Regions from separate parts of the Homo sapiens genome. Here region 1 is linked to region 2. The links are contacts of gene promoters, found by promoter capture Hi-C in blood cells and fetal thymus (Javierre and others, 2016). All regions are on one chromosome and are shown on one strand. Each heading gives the region's core, a stretch centred on a gene start or on the middle of the fragment in contact. The rest is flanking DNA. Distances are from core to core; before and after follow the strand shown. Region 1 overlaps LOC105370982 (a long non-coding RNA gene). Region 2 holds the start of MCTP2 (multiple C2 and transmembrane domain containing 2).

Region 1 (3,572 bases), core at 818-3,317, 950 kb after region 2:
GGGAGGCTGAGGCAGGCAGATCATCTGAGGTCAGGAGTTCCAGACCAGCCGGGCCAACATGGTGAAATCCCGTCCCTACAAAAAATACAAAAATTAGCCGGGTGTGGTGGCAGGTGCCTGTAATCCCAGCTACTCGGGAGGCTGAGGCAGGAGAATCGCTTCAACCTGGGAGATGGAGGTTGCAGTGAGCTGAGATTGCGCCACTGCACTCCAGCCTGGGAGATAGAGCGAGACTCCGTCTCAAAAAAAAAGGAAAGAAAACCCACTGCACAGTCAGGCTTGTCTCTTCCAATTTTTCTATCCCTCTCCCCAATTTGCAGATGAGAAAACTAAGGCCCAGGAAGATTAGATAGAATACTGAGAGTCACAGAGCTGGGTGATCCAGGCCCAGGACACAAGTCCTTTCCCTACCAGTGAAAGAACTGCCTCCCTCTCGCTGCCTGCCTCTCCAGCTCACTCCCTCTTCTGTCTATTAAAAAGAGATTGATCCTCCCCTCTCCATCTAAGTCACAGTCATGCAGTCGCAGTGGCTTTCTTCACCCACAACAGAGCAAAAGTAGCCAGGAAATCAAGTGATGTGTCCCCTTGGGGATGGAGAGAGGAGAAATATCACTCAAGCTGGGCCAGGAAATCAACAGGTTTGTGTCAGGCCTCTGAGCCCAAGTCAAGCCATCGCATCCCCTGTGACTTGCACGTATATGCCCAGATGGCCTGAAGTAACTGAAGAATCACAGAAGAAGTGAAAATGCCCTGCCCCACCTTAACTGATGACATTCCACCACAAAAGACGTGAAAATGGCCGGTCCTTGCCTTAACTGATGACATTACCTTGTGAAAGTCCTTTTCCTGGCTCATCCGGGCTCAAAAAGCTCCCCCACTGAGCACCTTGAGACCCCCACTCCTGCCCACCTGAGAACAAATCCCCTTTGACTGTAATTTTCCTTTATCTCCCCAAATCCTATAAAACCGCCCCACCCTTATCTCCCTTCGCTGACTCTGTTTTTGGACTCAGCCCGCCTGCAGCCAGGTGATTAAAAGCTTTATTGCTCACACAAAGCCTGTTTGGTGGTCTCTTCACTCCGACGCGCATGAAAGTTTCAAAGTGAGGGAAAGGACAACAATGTTTTCACTCTGAATTCCCCAAGGACTTCAAATGGCTATGGCTGGGGAGATTTCCTGACCTAGCCACCCTGACCCCTGAGAAATGGCTGTGTTCATGGCCTGGAGAGGTGAGTAACTGAAGGATCGCAGGCCATCAAGCACCAGGCCTGAAGCCAAGCTGCACAGCTGCCATGGGGAGGGCTGGCTGGCTTCTCCGCTCTTGCAGGCCCACGATGACGGCGATGGTGACAGGACTCACTGGGCCACACTGCACTTGTCTCGGGAGGACAGCACCATGCCACCAGGAGCCAAGGGCATGGAAAAATAACGTTCTCCAGTTAGCCTAAGGCAAATGGGAGTCTAGCATTATGCGTATTTTAAAAGATATGACCTTATTCTGTACCCCAAGCTGGTGAAGTGAGAAATATGGATTGTATAAGTTAATGTCTAGACTCCCATCAGAGTATTTTAAACCCCTTTAGCCTCCATGTATGACCAGAAAGGACTAGTCTGAATTTAAAAAAAAAAAAAAAAAAAAAACACTTTTCCTACACCACAAATTATTAGGTAATGGAATAAACCTTTTTTTTTTCAAAAGTAACTTTTAATTTTAGAATGGTTTGGATTTACAGAAAAACTGCCACAATAGTACAGAGAGTTCCCATATACCCATAAACCTCAAGCAATTTTCCCCTGCTAATAATATCTTCTGTTAGTATGGTACATTCATTACAATTAATGAACCAATAGCAATGTATTATTGTTATTATTAACTAACATCCATACTTTATTCAGATAGCCTTAGTTTCTACCAATGTCCCTCCACTCTTGCAGGATACCACCCTGGACACCACATCACATTTAGGCATTGCCTCCTTCAGCTCCTCTTGGCCCTGACGGCTTCCCAGAGTGTCTTTGGTTTTGATGGCTTTTCAAATGTGAGAGGTATTGATCAGGCATTCTGCAGACTCTCCCTTCATCGGGATTGCTCTGATGTTTTCCTGGTGATTAGACTTGGGCGAGGGATTTAGGGAGGAAGACCTCAGAGATGAAGAGCCATTCCCATCCCATCGTATCAGGGCATGTACAGTTAGCATGGTTCGTTGCTCTTAACCTTGACCACCTGATTGAGGTGGTGTTTGTCAGGTGTCTCCACCGTACTCCTTTGGAGTTCCTCCTTCCACACTGTACTCTCTGGATGGAAGTCCCGATGCACAGCCCACATGAAAGGAGAGAGGAGTTACGCTCCACCTCCTCGAGGGCGGAATATTGACATGAATTATTTGGATTTCTTCTCACCGGGAGGTTTGAAAGAGACTGTTTTCTTTTTTTTCTTTTTTCTTTCTTTTTTTTTTTTTTTTTTTTTTTGAGACAGAGCTTCGCTCTTGTTGCCCAGATTGCAATGGCGTGATCTCCGCTCACTGCAACCTCCACCTTCTGGGTTCAAGCGATTCTCCTGCCTCAGCCTCCTGAGTAGCTGGGATTACAGGCATGCACCTCCACGCCCAGCTCATTTTGTATTTTTATTAGAGACGGGGTTTCTCCACGTTGGTCAGGCTGGTTTCTAACTCCGGACCTCAGGTGATCCGCCTGCCTCGGCCTCCCAAAGTGCTGGGATTACAGGTGTGAGCCACTGCGCCAACCTGAAAGAGACTGTTTTCTAAATGTAAGCTGAAATGACTCGTTTCACATCTGCATTTTTAGTAAATAGGTGTTGGAGTATATCAGGGGCTCTCGAACAGTGTTCCACAAAGCTGTGAGGTTCCAAGAAGAAAGTTAGAGGCTTCGGGAGGAAGCAGGCAGTGAGCAGGGCTCCAGCCTCGGTGCTCAGATTACCCAGAGCCAAGAGGAGGCTGAGGAGACGTGACATCTAAATGCGATGTGAGATCCAGGGTGGGGATCCAGGGGATCCCAACTATTATTGGCTTCTATTTTAAGTATTCACATGAAATGGATTTTGCAGAAAATAATTTTGCTTGTAAAAAATAAGCTTGCAATACTCCGAAAGGTTGACTGTGAATGCCTCTACTACTTCCAGTTACCTACCTTCTAATAACATCACGAGATCACGTATTACTCATTAGATCCCATTTTTAAAAAGAAACAAAAATATTCTGTAGTAAAAGCTTTTGGGTTTTGTTCCCCTAATTTTTCCTGTGGAAAATACTGGGTAAAGTGAAAATCATCTTCAGATATGAAACCTGCAAGTCATGATCAGCTGCTAAACCGAATGTGACTATGAAGAACTGGCTCGCTCAGCCGCCCTCATCCTCAGTTCATGTCATCCCGTTTCTCGCTGAATCAGGCCACATGCATGGCCTAAAGATCTGGCTGCACAAGGCCAGGTGCGGTGGCTCACGCCTGTCATCCCAGCACTTTGGGAGGCTAAGGCGGGCAGATCACGAGGTCAGGAGATCGAGACCATCCTGGCTAACACGGTGAAACCCCGTCTCTACTAAAAATACAAAAAA
Region 2 (4,124 bases), core at 449-2,948:
CTTTTAAAGCTACATCTACTAGTCACAGATAGGTCACAGCTTGACCACACAAGTGCAATGAAAACAGTGCTCACTTCATTCCTGAGGACTACTTTAACTCCATTAATCCCCAGGAGATAGGATCTATGAATATAAATTTGAATTCTTATATTAAATCTGCCGGATTTACACTCTCCATCTTAGAGACAGCATGGAATAGTGAAAAAGTACGAGTTCTGCACTCAGAAATAGCCACATGCAATTTCTAAATTCACCACTGACCTTGTACAAATTACTGGACTCCTCTCTGCCTCAGTTCCTTATCTGCACAGGGGAATAGTATCTACTTTGTAGATTTCATAGACAAGACAAAGTGCCTAGCATGGTGCTTGGCACAGAGCTAATTCTTAATAATCTTATTTTAAGCATGGTTTTGACAATTTTTATTGCTTTGGAATGACTGATCAGGCTAATGACAGAGACTCTTCAAAGATTTACATTCTCCCTGCATTTAAATACTTATAACCAGCGATTACACAGGTGCTGCTGAGGCAAAGCGCAGCACCATTGGTCTCGTTCTAAACACCCACCTGTGAGGAATAAGTGCCTTAAGATTCCCCTTTGTATTAATATCAACACCTGTGCTACCCAACAGCACACCAGCCCGGCTCTCAGAGGTCTGCCCGTTAACAGGTGTACAATAAATATTTGTTGAATTGAAATGCTACTGACTCAAGCAAAAAATGAATGCTAATGTAAATTATAATCCATACAAATCCTTCAATAAGTGGTGTCTGAATTCTGTGCGTCCTGAAGCAAGTGTTCTAACGTCTCACGGTTCACTGAGAAGCTGCTTGGTACCTTAAGGGTTCGCACCCTTGTACCTTCCAGACCAAGCTCTTGTAAGCATCTAGAGGAGGCTGAAACCCTCAGTCAGCATCGCACAGAAGTTCATTCAGACTAGAGAAAACCTCTTTTATGGCAACCCAATCATTTAAAAAAAGCCGTCAGCACATTTGCTTAACAAATGGACAGTGCAGGAGGGAACTAATTGCGGAAACTAATCGCCACTCAAGTTCACCACCAACATCACTGTCTTTATTTTTAACTTACTTATCTTCAGTGGGATTGAGACACTGTTTGTTACCTACGCAATTATCCCAAGGATTTCTGCTCCGGTGTCGTTGAGCAAATGTCAGCGCAAAGAATTAAAGTTGAACCTCCGGGTCTCTACGAAGAGAGCGTATTAAAGCCCACCCAGCTGAGGAACTGACCTCTGTGGAAGGAGTCCTGGATGTGGCGGTGACTACCTCCGTAGCGCCCCGGGGAGACTGAATGTGTGGCCTTTAAAATGCAAAGAAATTCTGGGCCAGGCTGCCCTCCCCTAGTGCGCCTTCCAGTACGCCACGCCTGGATTTCTGCCTCCAGTCCTCAGGACACCTTTCTGATCTCTGAACCACAAGCAGCTCCGGGGTAGTAGCGCCACTGAATTCTCATCCTGGACCCTCCAGCTCCCCAACTCCCAGCTTCGGTTGAGAGAAGACGCCCACCCCCAGGCGGCGACCGTGCTGCCCGGCCCACGCGCGCTGCCAGGTGAACCCGGCACCGCCCTCACCTGTGCGAGGCCGCGTTCGGGGGCTGCAAAGCTGGGCAGGCGCGCGCCCCTCACCTGCACCGGACCCGCTGCAGTCGCCACTCGGAAGCGCAGGGAGCAACCCTGACGCGGCGGGGGCGGGGGCATCACCGAGGGCCCCCGGACTTCCTCGGGCCCCCCCACCGCCCTTGCGAGCCCCGCCTAAAGGGGAGGAGGCGGCCGCGCGTCACCTTTGAGCAGCCTCCGACCCAAGCGCCCGCGCTGCCGCCGGGAGCTCGGCCGGGTGTTGCAAGGAGGCGCTATGCTTGGTGCTGGGCACTGGCTGGGCGTAGAGAAGGCGATTACTTGTAACTCATTCGTTTGGGTTGGCTCACAGGAAAAGGAAGGTGTGTCCAAAAAGTCCGAAGTGAGGAAATAGGACGAGGATGGCTTGCAAACTCGTAAAGTCTTAATAAGCTGTCTTCGCTGATACTCAGAAGGGTTCTCTTCGCTCCTGTAGGTCCCTAATAGATTCATGGGAAGACAGCAGCCTCCCTTTGTAACGCCCTGACCCTGGGAAGAGGTACCCGAGCCAGACAGCCTATTAACCTATGCCACGTGTGCGCGACTGTGGGTGGAAGATGCCCGCCCAGATCCACAGAACTGTTTCCTGAGCCTTGGTGCCTCATCTATGAGATAAGGCCGGCGTACTGCTCAGCAAGCCGTCCCGAGTACTCGGCAGAGAACCCTAAAGACCCTCCCGTGCGATTGTTGGCACTCAGCGAATATTTGCTATTTATTTCCCCTTTCCCTTACTTTCTTTTTCTACTTTTTTTTACGCCGCTTTCCTGCTGTAATTGTCTTATTGCACTTTGTTTGCTCGGTTTCACTGCCTGGTCAGTTTCTTTTCCCGTCTATGAACGAGCCTAAGTCTGTGCGCTCTAGGAATTTGGGTGGATTAGGAAAAGAAATGTATGATCCATGCCTTCTGGGAGATCAGGGACTCATCTCTGGGAAATAGCATTTTTAAATTAGATACAAGAGAGTTACAGAAAATAACCTTAAAACGGGAATGGGACCTCTGGGAATAGGCGAGCTCTGAAATGAAGCGTTTAGTTGGTGTCACTGGTGATTAAGAGCTCCGGCTTTGGAGTCAGACCTCAAATCAAATTCTGCCTGGGCAACTAATTGTGTAAATGGACGAGTTCACTTAACCTCTCTAAATTTTAACTTCAACAAACTGGTTGTTTAAATAGCTTAAAATAGCTTAAATAGCTTAAAATAATAGCTATCTCATACTTTCTGAGAAATTAATTAGGTAATTCACATAAAATCCTCATTACAGTGTCCTGGGCCATGGTAACCACTTAATAAAAGTTAGCTATTAACAATACTAAGGTAGGAAATGGGAGGAAGGGGCATAAAAATTTAGAAAACATGAGGACGTGATAGAAAACAGCTGCCACTGTCATGCAATTCCGACTTACAACAATAGCTACCACTGAGGAACACAACTTCGCACCAGTTTCTGTGATTGGCATGTAACACGTGATCATATTGAATTTTCACAAACCAGGAGACAGTTAATAAAATCTCTGATTCAAGATGAGGAAAATGAGCATCAGAACCATGAAATAACCTGCCTGAAGCTATGAGTCAAGTTAGTAGCCGAGTCAGAGCAAGCTGAGGCCTATGGCAAAATTGGCTTTTCCCACCGTGCCGAAGGTTACATCCCCTAGCAGAGAACAGAGAGAGGTAAGGGTAAAACAGCATGAAAGGAAGAAGAGAAAGAGCAGTAGGCAGACGAAGCAATCATACCTTTAAAGCTGACTAAGAATACAAATGAATTAAAATAGTAAGTGAACCCACACAAAAGCTTTTTTGCCTTTAACTCCTGCCCCAGTGGAGTTCCTGTTCTGTGGTTCCGGCAGTCCAACCGCATTTTTCAATCATTAAATGGTATAGAAAGTGAAACAACTAAAGATACAGAAATCTAAGGTCACAACTTGCCCTTCCCACCACAATACACTCATCTGCCCAGCTTCCTGGGTTTTTTGTTTTTAATTGTTCAAACATATTACCTGTCTCCTTTTCTATGTTCCACCCAGGAAATGTCCCTTCCAGGGAATAATATTGTTGCTTATACCAATTTAACTTTACTACATAACCACACCAGCATTTAGAATGGCAACTGGACTCATACATGTAGCTGATAAATTTTTAACACACTTTTGTTATATTGAATTTCTCTAAACAGATTTTGAACCAGGTCTTACATTATAGGCACTGGTCAGTGATGTCATAATTATACTTAAAAAAAAATAAAATCTCCTGCACGTATCATAGGCAGCTTTCTCTCTCTTCTGAGCAACCAGATATTTGGCCTCTGAAGAAATGCCCCTATTGTCAATGTGATAATTGAGGTGGAGATTTCCCACTTTCAGATACAATTGCTTTTATATCTTAGACAATGTATGTTTGGTTGCATGACAATCTAATATTGGCACCTCTTCTTTTAAATTGTAAATGGAAGATGTGTCTTCTGAAGGCCCAGTGTACTCCTTGGCTATCA

What was found. The method cuts DNA at HindIII sites, captures the fragments that hold promoters and counts their contacts. A CHiCAGO score of 5 or more calls a contact.
Region 1: a fragment that was not itself captured here is called in contact with the fragment with the promoter of MCTP2 in region 2 in 1 of 17 cell types (monocytes); the score reaches 5.8 in monocytes.

The regions. Positions count from the first base shown.
Region 1 is chr15:93,275,893-93,279,464 of GRCh38, reverse strand. The region is part of intron 5 of LOC105370982 (a long non-coding RNA gene); the gene reads right to left. Among named protein-coding and RNA genes, the nearest start is that of RGMA, 190 kb to the right of the region's middle. RefSeq lists enhancers at 51-932, 933-1,815, 3,073-3,572. The HindIII fragment of the contact is 2,053 bases long and covers 1,041-3,093 here.
Region 2 is chr15:94,229,135-94,233,258 of GRCh38, reverse strand. MCTP2 (multiple C2 and transmembrane domain containing 2) reads right to left here and starts at 1,698. Exons shown (of 23, transcript NM_001385001.1): 1 at 1,595-1,698. RefSeq lists a silencer at 1,639-1,768 and an enhancer at 3,304-3,443. The HindIII fragment of the contact is 9,020 bases long and covers 1-3,430 here.